Regions from separate parts of the Homo sapiens genome. Here regions 1 and 2 are each linked to region 3. Evidence: promoter capture Hi-C in 16 types of primary human blood cells and fetal thymus (Javierre and others, 2016). All regions are on one chromosome and are shown on one strand. The core of a region is centred on a gene start or on the middle of the fragment in contact, and the rest is flanking DNA. Distances in the headings are between cores, read along the strand shown.

Region 1 (3,896 bases), core at 120-2,619, 510 kb after region 3:
TGGGGAGATGCTGATAAAAAGGTACAAAGTTTTAGTTAGACACAAGTAAGTTCGGGTGATCTATTGTAAAAATGGTGACTACAGCTAATAATAATGTACTGTGTACTTGAAAATGGCTAAGAGAGGCTGGGCGTGGTGGCTCACGCCTGTAATCCCAGCACTTTGTGAGGCCAAGGCCGGTGAATCACTTGAGGTCAGGAGTTCTAGACCAGCCTGGCCAAGATGGTGATACCCCATCTCTACTAAAAATACAAAAATTAGCTGGGCATGGTGGCACGTGCCTGTGATTCCAGCTACTTGCAAGGCTGAGGTGGGAGAATCGCTTGAACCCAGGAGACGGAGGTTACAGTGAGCCAAGATCATGCCACTGCACTCCAGCCTGGGCGACAGAGCGAGACTCCATCTCAAAAAAAAGAGAGGAGACATTATGGATTAAAGGAAAAATAAAACACATAGCAATCAAATGTAATGCATGAATGCTTACTTGGATTATGACTTAAGTCAACAGAGAAAAGATATATTTTTTAAAGACATAAAAATAGTTCAACAGCACAGAGTATTATTTTTTGAGTTTCTCTAAGATTGATATTATTTCCTTTTTAAGTGTTTGAATATAATTCATTGTGTAGTCATGTGGGCCTAGAGCTTCCTTCATGAGAAAGTTAAATTAAATTAAATTAATTAATTATTTTAGAGACAAGGTCTTGCTATGTTCCCCATGCTGGTCTTGAACTTCTGGGCTCAAGCAATCCCCTCTCCTCAGTCTTCCAGAGTTCTGAGATTATAGGCATGGGCCACTGCACTCGGCCTATGAGACGGTTTTGAATTACAGATTTAACATGTTTAATAAATATGATGTTGTGCAGATTTTGTATTTCTTTTTCCGTCAGTTTTTGTAAGTTGTATGTTTTGAGAAATTTATCTAAGCAGCTAAATTTCTTGGCATAAAATTGTTCATATTATTCTTTCAGTGTCTGTAGGATCTGTAATGACGTCCTTTAATTCCTAATATTAGTTGATATTGAGGAATTATGCACAAAATTCTTCGCTGTTAAAGATACAATCCTAAAGAATTTATGGGTGAAATGTGATATCTAGAATTTGGTTTTAGATATTTCAGAAAAAAAATAAAACAGTATAGATGGAATAGATGAAATAGGACTGGTAAAATGTTGAAAAATATTGAAGTTGGGTAACATACACAGGAATTCATTGTACTATTCATGTTGGAGATTTTTCTATAATAAAAATGGTATGTAAAAAAGAATGGGAGAAGAGAAATTGGAGACAGGGTTTTCAAGAAGTTTTGTTGTAAGGGGAGCAGAAAAACTGAGGTGGTAACTGGTGGAAGAATGTGGTCATGAAAGCGGACTTCTTTAATATGTGAGAAATAATAGCATGTTTGTCTGGTGATAAGAAAGATCTGATTTTTCCATTAGAGCCCTTAGCATATTAATCACCATTGTTTTAAATTCCTGGTCTAATAATTCTAACATCTCTGCCATATCTGAGTCTGATTCTAATGCTTGCTCTGTCTCTTCAAACTGTGTTTTTTTTTTTGTCTTTTAGTTTATCTTGTAATTTTATTTTTTTTAATCTTTATCTTTAATTTTTTTGTTGAAAGTTGGACACAATGTAGTGGATAAAAGGAACTGAGGTAAATACATCTTTATTTTCATTTATTTATTTATTTATTTTGAGATGGAGTCTCGGTCTGTTACCCAGGCCGAAGCGCAGAGGCGTGATCTCGGCACACTGCAACCTCCGCCTCCTGGGTTCAGGTGATTCTCCAGCCTCAGTCTCCCAAGTAGCTGGAACTACAGGCACGAGCCATCACACCTGGGCTAATTTTTGTATTTTTAGTAGAGATGGGATTTCACCATGTTGGCCAGGCTGGTCTCAAACTCCTGACCTCAAGTGATCCACCCTCCTTGGCCTCCCAAAGTGCTAGGATTACAGGTGTGAGCCACCACACCCGGCCTGTAAATAAGTCTTCAGTGGGAAGTTGTATATTTATCTTATTTATCTAGTTAGAAGTTAGGCTGTGTTTACTGTTTGTTGTAGCTGTGGGAGTCAGAGGCAAAAATTTCCTCCGGTGTCCTTGTTTTTGTCTCACCTGTTATCTTTGGATTTCCCTAGAGACTTCTTGGGAGGTCTCAGAAATAACATGCAGTTATTTCTGTTGTACTCCCTTATTATCATACAGATAAGTCCTGTTGATATAGTGGTGAGGTGTGGAGAGAGAGGAAGAATTCTATAGACCTGTGATTAGGTCTTAGACTTTAGCGAGCCTGTGCTCCTGGGCTGCACCTTTCACAAGCGCTTCTCAGTTCTTTCCCGCTTTAGTTGGCAAAAAGGGGCTGGAGTTGGGTATTTTCCTTCTCCTGTGATTAGTCTCTGGTAAAATCCAGTCAGCTAGCCTCTGATAACATAGTTTCCATTGAGAGCAGGCTTTGTTAAGAAGAGCTGGACACTTTGGCATATTTCGAATGGCTATTTTTCCCCTCCTCTTGCCAGAAGCATGAGGATTTTTTTTTTGTTTTTTTTTTTTTTGCTGATCTTCACCCTGAGAACCTGGTAGGGTTCTTGGAGGTAAAACTCACGAAAGTGGAGGTAAAATCCAGTATGACTGGCCACATGCCCTGGAGTTTTTAACTTTCAAACTTGTCCACACAGAGCCTCCAGCAATTCATCTATTATAGTTTGGGTTTTTCGTTCCCCAGTACTCGTTCTTGCAGAGTTTTCTGCCCCTGGGCTTCTATTCCAGTAAGTTGTGATTCTCTGTATTTACCCATTTGTCTCTCCAGTTTGGGGGACAGAAGTGTGCCCTGTTACTTCAACTGATTTTCAGTTTATTTAGCTTTTTTATTGTTGTGAAGACAGGAGTGATGACTTCCAAGCTCCTTACTTGCTAGACCAGAAACCGGAAGGGAAAGATCTAGAAGAGAGGAAAACTTGACACAGGAAAGACAGAAGAAAATTCCTAGTGTTGATGAGTTTGAATTGGTGAAAGGGGGTGTGATCTAGTGTTCAAGTGGAGGACTAGCCTTAGCTGATAACATCATGAGCACTTTATATTAGCACAGAGAAGGTAGAGGACATGGGCGCACATGAAGATTGATGGGTATGTGGGGGTATATATGATAGTGGGAACTTGTAGAGACATCCTCTTTAATTTGCTTCTATTTCACAATGAAATAGGAAGGAAGGTTTTCTGTAGAGAAAGACGGATGGACAGACACACACACGAGAGAGAGAGAGAATGGCAAAGTAGATGTTAGAGTTTTGAAAAGAGGAAAAAGATTATGAAAGAATTATTTGGATCATTTAGGAGAGTGGGAGAGTTAATGGACTAGAGAAAGATTGCCAGGCAGAATTGGGGCCCATCTGAGGCTTATGGGTCACAGTTTTGAAGTGATGCCCCTGGACTCAGAAAACAATATTTTAAATTCATTAGAGTAAAATGTACTAGTATTATCCAATATCCATTTTCCTCCTTTTAATAACAGAAGCCCAGAATTGTAGCTGGGTACATGTCCCTCCCCCACCCCCCACAAAGACATTTCTCAGCTTCCGTTGCAGGTAGGTGTGGTCATGTAACAGTCAACTGTGTTCTGGTAAATAGAATATAGCACAAGTGGTTTGTGTAATTTCTTGAAACTGTCTTTACAAAATTGTATCAGAGAGAAAATTATGTCAATGGGGGAGATCTGATCTAGTCAACCCCCGTCTTGCCTTTATTTTAGCCTTTGGGCTGCCTTTGATTATTCCTGGGCTGGCTTTGGGAGACATCTAGTTTAAAGTTTAAGTGAAAATAACCCTTCCCCCAAAACTCAACCACCTTTATAAAGCTGAGAGGTCACCAGGCTAGGAGGATAGAGGACCCTGAATTTTAC
Region 2 (4,279 bases), core at 1,682-4,181, 540 kb after region 3:
AAGTTAAGACTGTTGCCCACCCATCTTGGGCTCCTTGTGCCTCTGAATCAACAGGCAAAGAAGAGAGTTACTGTGTTGGCTGAGTGTTAATCCTGACTACCAAGGGGGAAACTGGACTACTATTTCACCATGGAGATAAGAAACAGTATGTTTGGAATACAGGATATCCCTTTAGGACATGTCTTAATGTTACCATGCCCTGTGATTTAAGTCAGTTTCAAACTACAATGTACCAATCCAGGCAGGACTACTAATGGCCAGACCCCTTAGGAATGAAGGTCTGGGTCACCCCACCTGTCAAAAAACTGACTAGTTGAGGTGCTTGAAGGCAAAGGGAATAAGGAATGTGTACTGGAAAAAGGTAGTTATATATACCAGCTATGACCACATGACTAGTTACAGAAATGAAGACCTTAGTTGTCACGAGTATTTCTTCCTTATTTTGGTATGGAGGAAGTGTGTGTGTAGGCAAATATCTTTTTTTCTTCCCTATATCATCCCCTTATCATGTAACTAAGATGCATGACTTTATATCATAGTCTTTAAGTATTGTTAACTTTACGTAACAGTATTTAAGTTTTGAGATAGCAAGAAGATTAAACATCACTCAAGGAAAGGGGGTTAGTGTGTTTTGGTTATACACAGTATCATGTTAGGTGGAATTATGTTCTTGCTATTGACTTCGTTTGGAGATTAAGTATGCATAGGAGTGCCAAGTTGGCAAGGGTTGGACTTGTGATGGTTAATTTTGTGTGTCAACCTGACTGACCCTCAGGGTACCTAGATATTTAGTCAAACATTATTCTGAGTGTTCCCGTAATGGTGTTTTTGAATGAGATTAACATTTAATTTACCTTGGTAGATTGAGTAAGCAGATTGCCCTTCCTGACATGGGTGGGCCTCATCCAATCAATTGAAGTCCTAAGTAGAACCAAATGGCTGACATTCCTCATGTAAGAGAGAATTCCTCCTGCTGGCCTGTCTGCCTTTGAACTGGGACGTGGACTTTTCCCTGCCTTCACATTCAAACTCAAAGATAGGCATTTCCTGGTTCCCAAACCTGCCAGTCTTTGGACTGGAACTACGTCATCAGTTCTGGGTCTCAGTCCTTTGGACTCAAACCAGAACAACATAATTGGCTCTCTTGAGTCTCTAACTTCCCGACTCACCCTGCAGGTCTTGGAAATTAAGACCAGCCTGGGCAACAAAGCAAGATCTCGTCATTACAGATAATAATAACAAAGTTAGCCCGGCATGGTGGCATGCACCTGTAGTCCCAGCTACTTGGGAAGCTGAGGTGTGAGTATTGCTTGAGCCCAGGAGGCCGAGGCTGCAGTGAACTATGATTGTGCCACTGTACTTAAACCTGGGTGACCAAGTGAAACAGTGAGACCCTGTCTCAATTTTTTTTCTTTTTGTCTTTGATTTTCTGCAGTTTCAATATAATATGCCTGTGTGTAAATGTCTTGATATATATCCTGCTTGGTGTTTTCTGGGCTTCTTGGATCTGTGGTATGGTGTCTATCATTATTCTGGAAAATTCTTAGTCATTTGGAGTAATTATTTTGTTCCTTTCTTCTCCTTCTGATATTCCCTTTACATGTATGTTATACCATTTGTCATTGCCCCACATTTCTTGGCTATTACATTCTATTCCTCCCCCCCTCCACTTGCTTCCAATTTGCTTTTCATTTTGGGGTTTTTATTGACATATCTTTAAGTTCATTGATTATTTCCTCATCTGTGTCCAGTCTACTGGTGAAGCCATCAAAGGCATTCTTCATTTCTGTTATATATTTTTTTGATTTTAAAGATTCCTTTTGAATTATTTTTAGAGTTCCCATTTCTCTGCTTACATAACCATCTGTTTTACATGTTGGTAACATTTTCATTAGCGCTCTTAGCATATTAATTATAGTTCTTTCAAGTTTCTTGTCTGATAGTTCCAAATTTTGTGTCATACCTGAGTCTGGTTCTGAAGCTTGTTCTAGCTCTTAGACTATGTTTCTGCTTTCTAGCATGCCTTGCCATTTTTGTTCAAAGCTGGACATGATGTATTGACTAAAAGAAACTGAGTTAAATAGGCTTGTATCGTGAGGTTTTGTGTTTATCTGGCTAAAAGCTAGGTTAGGTTTACTATTTGCCATAGCTGTAGGTGTCAGAGGCTAAAACTTGCTCTAATGTCCTTGTTTCTGTCTCCCTGTTGTCTTTGGATTTTTTTCCTTCTTTTCTTTTTTTTTTCTTTGAGACAGAGTCTTACTCTGTTGCTCAGGCTGGAGTGCACTGGCGCAATGCAACTTCCGCCTCCTGGGTTCAAGCAATTCTCCTGACTCAGCCTCCCAAGTAGTTGGGGTTACAGTCATGCGCCACCACGCCCAGATAATTTTTGTATTTTTAGTAGAGATAGGGTTTTGCCATGTTGGCCAGGCTAGTCTCGAACTCCTGACCTCAGGTGATCCACCTGCCTCAGCCTCCCAAAGTGCTGGGATTATAGGCATGAGCCACCGTACCCAGCCTGTCTTTGGATTTCTTTAGAGACTCCTTCCAAAGCCAGCCTGAGCCTTGAAGTTATTTCAGTTGTAATCCCCTGTTATTATGTAGGAGCCTGACTGATGTGGTGGTAAGGAGAGGTATATTAGGATTCTCTAGAGGGTCAGCATTAATAGAATAGATATATGTATGAAGGGGAGTTTATTAAGGAGTATTGACTCACACGATCACAAGGTGAGTCCCGTAATAGGCGGTCTGCAAGTTGAGGAGCAAGGAAGCTAGTCCAAGTCCCAAAACCTCAAAAGTAGGGAAGCCAACAGTGCAACCTTCAGTTGTGGCTGAAGGCCCGAGATCCCCTGGCAAACCACTGGTATAAGTCCAAGAGTCCAAAAGCTGAAGAACTTGGAGTCCGATGTTCAGGGACAGGAAGTATCCAGCACAGGAGAAAGAGGAAGGCCGGAAGATTCAGTAAAGTCAAGTCCTTCCATATTCTTCTTCTACCTGCTTTTATCCTAGCCATGCTGGCAGCTGATTAGATGGTGCCTATCCAGATTGAGGGTGGATCTGCTTCTCCCAGTCCACCCACTCAAATGTTAATCTCCTTTGGCAATACTCTCACAGACACACCCAGGAACAATACTTTGTATCTTTCAATCCAATGAAGTTGACACTCAATATTAACCATCACAACAGAGGAAGCATTCTATAATTCTAATGTTATGTCTTATTCTGCTAGTCTTTTATTGAGCCTATGTCCTAGGGCTATAACCTTCCCAAGTGCTTCTCAGCTCTTTTTCCTCCCTTAGGTAGGGCAAGAAGGCTAGAAGGTTTTGGAATTGGGTATTTTTCATTCTCTGGGTAGGTAAGGCTCTGGAAAATAATTTCCCTGAGGGAAGGCTTTTGTTAAGAAGAACAGAATGCTGTAGGTGTATTTCACAATCATTGCTTTTTCCTCCCCCTGGTGGAAGCGTGAAAGGATTTTTCTCTGAGAACCTGGTGGGGTTCCTAAGGACAAACTCATAAAAGTGTGGGGATCTCCCTAAAATTGAGCCCCCAGAGTTTTAACTCTCAAACTAGTACACAGGGAGCCTCCAGTGATTTGCCAATTACAGTTTGCTTAAGCATTCCTACCACATTAACAACTTCAGTGAGATAATTTTCATGTGACTCAAAATTGAGAAGAAACGAAAGAAAATATTGATAATTTGTATATTAAAAATTCCTTTGCACAGCAAAACTCATTGCAAACAAAGTTAAAAGACAAATGACAACTAGGAAAATATTTGCTACTCAAACGACAAATAAAGGCCTAAATATTTTAAAAATTGAGAAAAAAGGACAATTATTTAGAAAAGTGGACAAAAGATAGAAACATACATTTTACAGAAACAAAAGCTTTTCCATATGTGAAAACTTGCTTAACCTCAGTCATGAGATATACAAATTAAAACTTGCTTATGTTGTTGATTTATCAGTTTTCATTTATCAGATTGGTAAACATCCAGAATTTTGACAACATAGTCTATTGGGAAGGCTGTATGGGAATTAGGCACTCTGGCACTCTAACACATTTCTGGGAGAATTGTGAATGACACAACTTTGGAATGGAATTTGGCAACATACTAGCAAAATTCATTTACTTTTTTATTGTTGTTTAGAGACAGGGTCACCAAGGCCCCCAGGCTGGTCCTGAACCTCTGGCCCCAAGTGATCCTCCCACCTTGACCCCACAAAGTGCTAAGACCACAGACATGAGCCACCAAGCTTGGCCTCATTTACCTTTTGACTC
Region 3 (4,293 bases), core at 360-2,859:
CACCCTTGCAGCTCTCAAAAGCTTACAAAGTTCCTGACTGCCTAGAAAATAAATTGCCATGCTCTGCTAAAATCTCCCTTGCAGTTTTATCTAAACCTGAACACTCACTCAATCATCAAACACCCTCCATTCAGAGGTCCTTGCCCCCATTAGCTCCCACTAGCCCCACGGGCCTAGAAAGCTGTCTGTCTCTCAGTCCTGCCTGATAATCAAAGTTAACTTCAAAGACCCCTCTTCCAAAGTTCCTCTCCTCTTTTCCCTCTGGAAATCCATAGAGCTTAGCAAAGCTACTGTGGTGGTTATTATCAGAATAGTCAGTGTCTCTGATAGGAAGCCAGTGACATACTACTGGGAAGTACAGCACACTGGTTTAGAGCCTCCTATTCAAACCGTGGTCCTCAGACCAGCAGCAGCAGTGTTTGAGCGCTTGTTGTTAACATCAAGTTCCTCCCCAGACCTCATGAATCAGGATCCGCTTTTTTTTTTTTTTTGAGACAGGGTCTCACTTTGTTGCACAGGTTGGAGTGCAATGGTGCAATCTCGGCTTACTGCAACCTCTGCCTTCCAGGCTCAAACGACCCTCCTGCCTCAGCCTCCCTCAGCCTGGGACCACAGGCGTGCACCACCACGCCCGGCTAACTTTTGTATTTTTTTGTAGGGACGGGTTTTCGCCCTATTGCCCATACTGGTATCGAATTCCTGAGCTCAGGCGATCCGCCCGCCACGGCCTCCCAAGGCGCTGGGATTACAGGTGTGAGCCACCTCGCGCAGCCCAGAATCCGAATTTTAACAAGACACCTATGCTATTCGTATGCACATTAAGTTTGAGAAGCACTGGTGTCCAATATCCATTCAGAGGTCAAAAAAAAAAAAAACCAAGCTCTGCTACTTAATAGCCATATGACCTTGGGCAAGCTGCTGTTAATCTGTTAGGCTCGGTTTCCTCGTTGTGAATAATACATCCCTAAAAGTGTTTTAAGGCCGAAATGCTATCAATAATGCCCACAGTGTGAGTAGTGCATGGCATGGAGTCATGGCTCATTTGCGCACACAGCACAACACGAACTGAGGAGAGTAGTTTCGGGTCCTTCACAGACTCAGTTCCTGCTTCACTGCACCTCAGTTTCTTCAAGTGCCAAATGACACTCTGGCTCTGCTTGATTCTAAAGAGCTAATGGGGCGCGGACTCCCCGGAAAGGCGAGATGGGGCCAGCTAGGCAAAAAGGCACGGAAAAGCAGAGCACCTCAGGGGGGCCTACGGCCGGGCCAGTCTGCAGCCCTACGACCCCTTCTCCTCCCAGCCGATCCCGGCCGCGCAGCACTCACCAGCCGTCGCGATCGGCCTCCGCCGGATTAGGTTATCAATCAGGCCGGAGCAGTAGCCCAAGAAGCCGATGTAGAGGAGCCGCGGGTCGGTCAGCTTGGGCGGGGGCAGGCTCCGGGCCTCATCCGGCAGAAACCGTAAGGGTTCTGGGTTCCGCCGTGCGATCATGGTGACGCCGTTTCCACTTGAGGCCTGGTCTCAGACCACGAACTACAAGGAAAACCACGACGACCACTACCCCGGCCTAAGCGGTCAGCTTTCTCCTCCTCCTCTGCGCGCCGGACTCACGGGCACGGCGCAGCGCGGTGCAGCGCCCAAACGCTTCCCGGTACGTGTTGCTGCGGGAACCCGGCACGCGAAGTTCCGGGCTACTAAGTTTCACTTTGCTCGTCCGCCCGCGCTAATTCTCTGGTGGGAGTGGGATTCACGGGCCTGGTAACGCGGGGTCGAGGAGTACCCCAAACGAGCCAAACTGGGCGAAGACTAGGAGATACTGATTTTCTTTTCTCCCAACTTCCCCAACCAGAATTGCCTCTCCCTCCCCTGCCCCTTCTGGAAAGATTTATCTTTTCATCCAATACCCACAAATGGGCATGATGCGTAGTTTTGATAAACGTAATTAATTGAAATTCCATAAAAGCTAGTTTTCGTTTTCTGAGTTTTCAGTCGTTCATTCGCATAGACACTCCCTCCAAAGCCTAAAATTAAGGTCTGGCCAGCAACAAAAGAATTTAGAGAAGCCCAGGACTGGATCGTTTTAGTCTATTGTTGAAATTCAGATTCGGAGGCAGCACCCTAAAATGTTTCACCTCTGGGTCTTCACGTCGTTACACATGGCTGAGTGAGGAGGTGTTCCCTAAAGGTTTGAGTAATGAGGCCAGGCGCCGTCACTCACGCCTGTAATCCCATCACTTTGGGAGGCTGAAGTGAGCGGATCACTTCAGGAGTTCAAGACCAGCTTGGCCAACATGGTGAAATCCCATCTCTACGAAAAATACAAAAAATTAGCTGGGCGTGGTGGCGGGTGCCTGTAGTCCCAGCTACTGGGAAGGCTGAGGCAGCATAATCGGCTGCTCGGGAAGCTGAGGGGGGAGAATCGCTTGAACCTGGGAGGTGGAGGTTGCAGTGAGCCGAGATCGCACCATTGCATTCCAGCCTGGTCAACAAGAGCGAAACTTCGTCTCAAAAAGAAAAAAAAAAAGGTTTGAGTAATGAAAGAAGGAATTTATAATTCTGTTAAGCAATTTTCCAGTCTCTGCTGTCAGGCCTCTCAGCCGAAGCTCAACCATTGTAACCCCTGTGACTTGCACATATGCGTCCAGATGGCCTGCGGGAGCCAAGAAGTCTGGGGCAGCCAAAAACCCACAAAAGAAGTAAAACAGCCACTTCCTGCCTTAACTGATTAACAAACATTCCACCATTGTGACTGGTCCCTGCCCTACCTTAACTGATCAACCATCCTTGTGACATTCTTCTTCTGGACAATAAGTCTTATGATCTCCCCATCATGTACCTTGTGACCCCCTCCCCTGCTAACAATAGATAACAACCACCTTTTACTGTAATTTTCCATTACCTACCTAAATCCTATAAAGCAACCCCTTCCCCATCTCCCTTCATTGATTCTCTTTTCGGACTCAGCCCACTTGCACCCAAGTGAATAAACAGCCTTGTTGCTCACACAAAGCCTGTTGGTGGTCTCTTCACACGGATGCATTTGACATTTGGTGCTATGACTTGGATCGGGGGACCTTCCTTGGGAGATCAATCCCCTGTCCTCCCGCTCTTTGCTCCGTGAGGAAGATCTACCTACGACCTCGGGTCCTCAGACCAGCCCAAGGAACATCTCACCAATTTTAAATCGGGTAAGTGGCCTCTTTCTACTCTCTTCTTCAACCTCTTTCACTATCCCTCAACCTCTTTCTCCTTTCAATTTCGGCACCACCCTTCAGTCTCTCCCTTCCCTTAATTTCGGTTCCTTTCCCTGTCTGGTAGAGACAGAGGAGACCCGTTTTATCTGTGGACCCAAAACTCTGGCGCTGGTCATGGACTCGGGAAGACTGTCTTCCCTTGTGTTTAGTCACTGCAGGGACGCCTGCCTGATTATTCACCCACATTTCAGAGGTGTTCGATCACTGCGGGGACACCTGTTTTGATCTTCCACCTTGGTGGCAAGTACCACTTCCCCTGGGTGGCAAGTACCACCCCCCCTCTCTCCATGTCTCAACCTCCTCCTTTCTCTAAACTTACCTTTTTACTATGGGCAACCTTCAGCCCTCCATTCCTTCTTCTTCCTCTCTTAGCCTGTGTTCTTAAAAACTTAAAACCTCTTCAACTCTCACCTGACCTAAAACCTAAGTGTCTTATTTTCTTCTGCAACACCACTTGGCCCCAATACAAACTTGATAATGGCTCTAAATGGCCAGAAAAGAGCACTTTCGATTTCTCCAGCCTACAAGATCTAGATAATTTTTGTCATAAAATGGGCAAATGGTCTGAGGTGCCCTACATCCAGGCATTTTTTACACTTCGTTCCTTCCCTAATCTCTGTTCCCAGTGCGACTTGCCGCAAATCTTCCTTCTTTCCCTCCCGCCTGTCCCTTCAGTCCCAACCTGAAGTGCCGGTGAGTCTTTTGAATATTTCTTTTCTACCGACCCATCTGACTTCTACCCTCCTCCCTAGACTGCTCCTCCTCAGGTCGCTCCCCACCAGGCTGAATCAGCTTCCAACTCTTCCTCAGCCTCCACTTCCCCACCCTACAACCCTTCTATCATCTCCCCTCCCCACACCTGGTCCAGCTTACAATTTCGTTCTGCGGCAAATACTCCCCCACCTGCCCAATAATTTCCTCTTCAAGAAGTGGCTGGAACTGAGGGCATCGTCAGAGTGCATGTACCATTTTCTCTATCAGACCTTTCCCAAATTAATCAACACTTAGGCTCCTTCTCGTCAGACCCCACCAAATATA

The links. The method cuts DNA at HindIII sites, captures the fragments that hold promoters and counts their contacts. A CHiCAGO score of 5 or more calls a contact.
Region 1: a fragment that was not itself captured here is called in contact with the fragment with the promoter of NDUFC2 in region 3 in 1 of 17 cell types (neutrophils); the score reaches 9.4 in neutrophils.
Region 2: a fragment that was not itself captured here is called in contact with the fragment with the promoter of NDUFC2 in region 3 in 1 of 17 cell types (neutrophils); the score reaches 5.1 in neutrophils.

What each region holds. Positions count from the first base shown.
Region 1 is chr11:78,590,883-78,594,778 of GRCh38, forward strand. No RefSeq gene overlaps it. Among named protein-coding and RNA genes, the nearest start is that of NARS2, 18 kb to the left of the region's middle. The HindIII fragment of the contact is 7,888 bases long and covers 1-3,896 here.
Region 2 is chr11:78,612,489-78,616,767 of GRCh38, forward strand. No RefSeq gene overlaps it. Among named protein-coding and RNA genes, the nearest start is that of NARS2, 40 kb to the left of the region's middle. The HindIII fragment of the contact is 1,904 bases long and covers 1,980-3,883 here.
Region 3 is chr11:78,078,253-78,082,545 of GRCh38, forward strand. NDUFC2 (NADH:ubiquinone oxidoreductase subunit C2) reads right to left here and starts at 1,610. Exons shown (of 3, transcript NM_004549.6): 1 at 1,327-1,610. The coding sequence starts at 1,492. NDUFC2-KCTD14 (NDUFC2-KCTD14 readthrough) reads right to left here and starts at 1,610. Exons shown (of 3, transcript NM_001203262.2): 1 at 1,327-1,610. The coding sequence starts at 1,492. LOC105369401 (a long non-coding RNA gene) reads left to right here and starts at 2,943. Exons shown (of 3, transcript XR_950342.2): 1 at 2,943-3,189. RefSeq lists an enhancer at 1,330-1,389 and a silencer at 1,593-1,782. The HindIII fragment of the contact is 4,740 bases long and covers 20-4,293 here.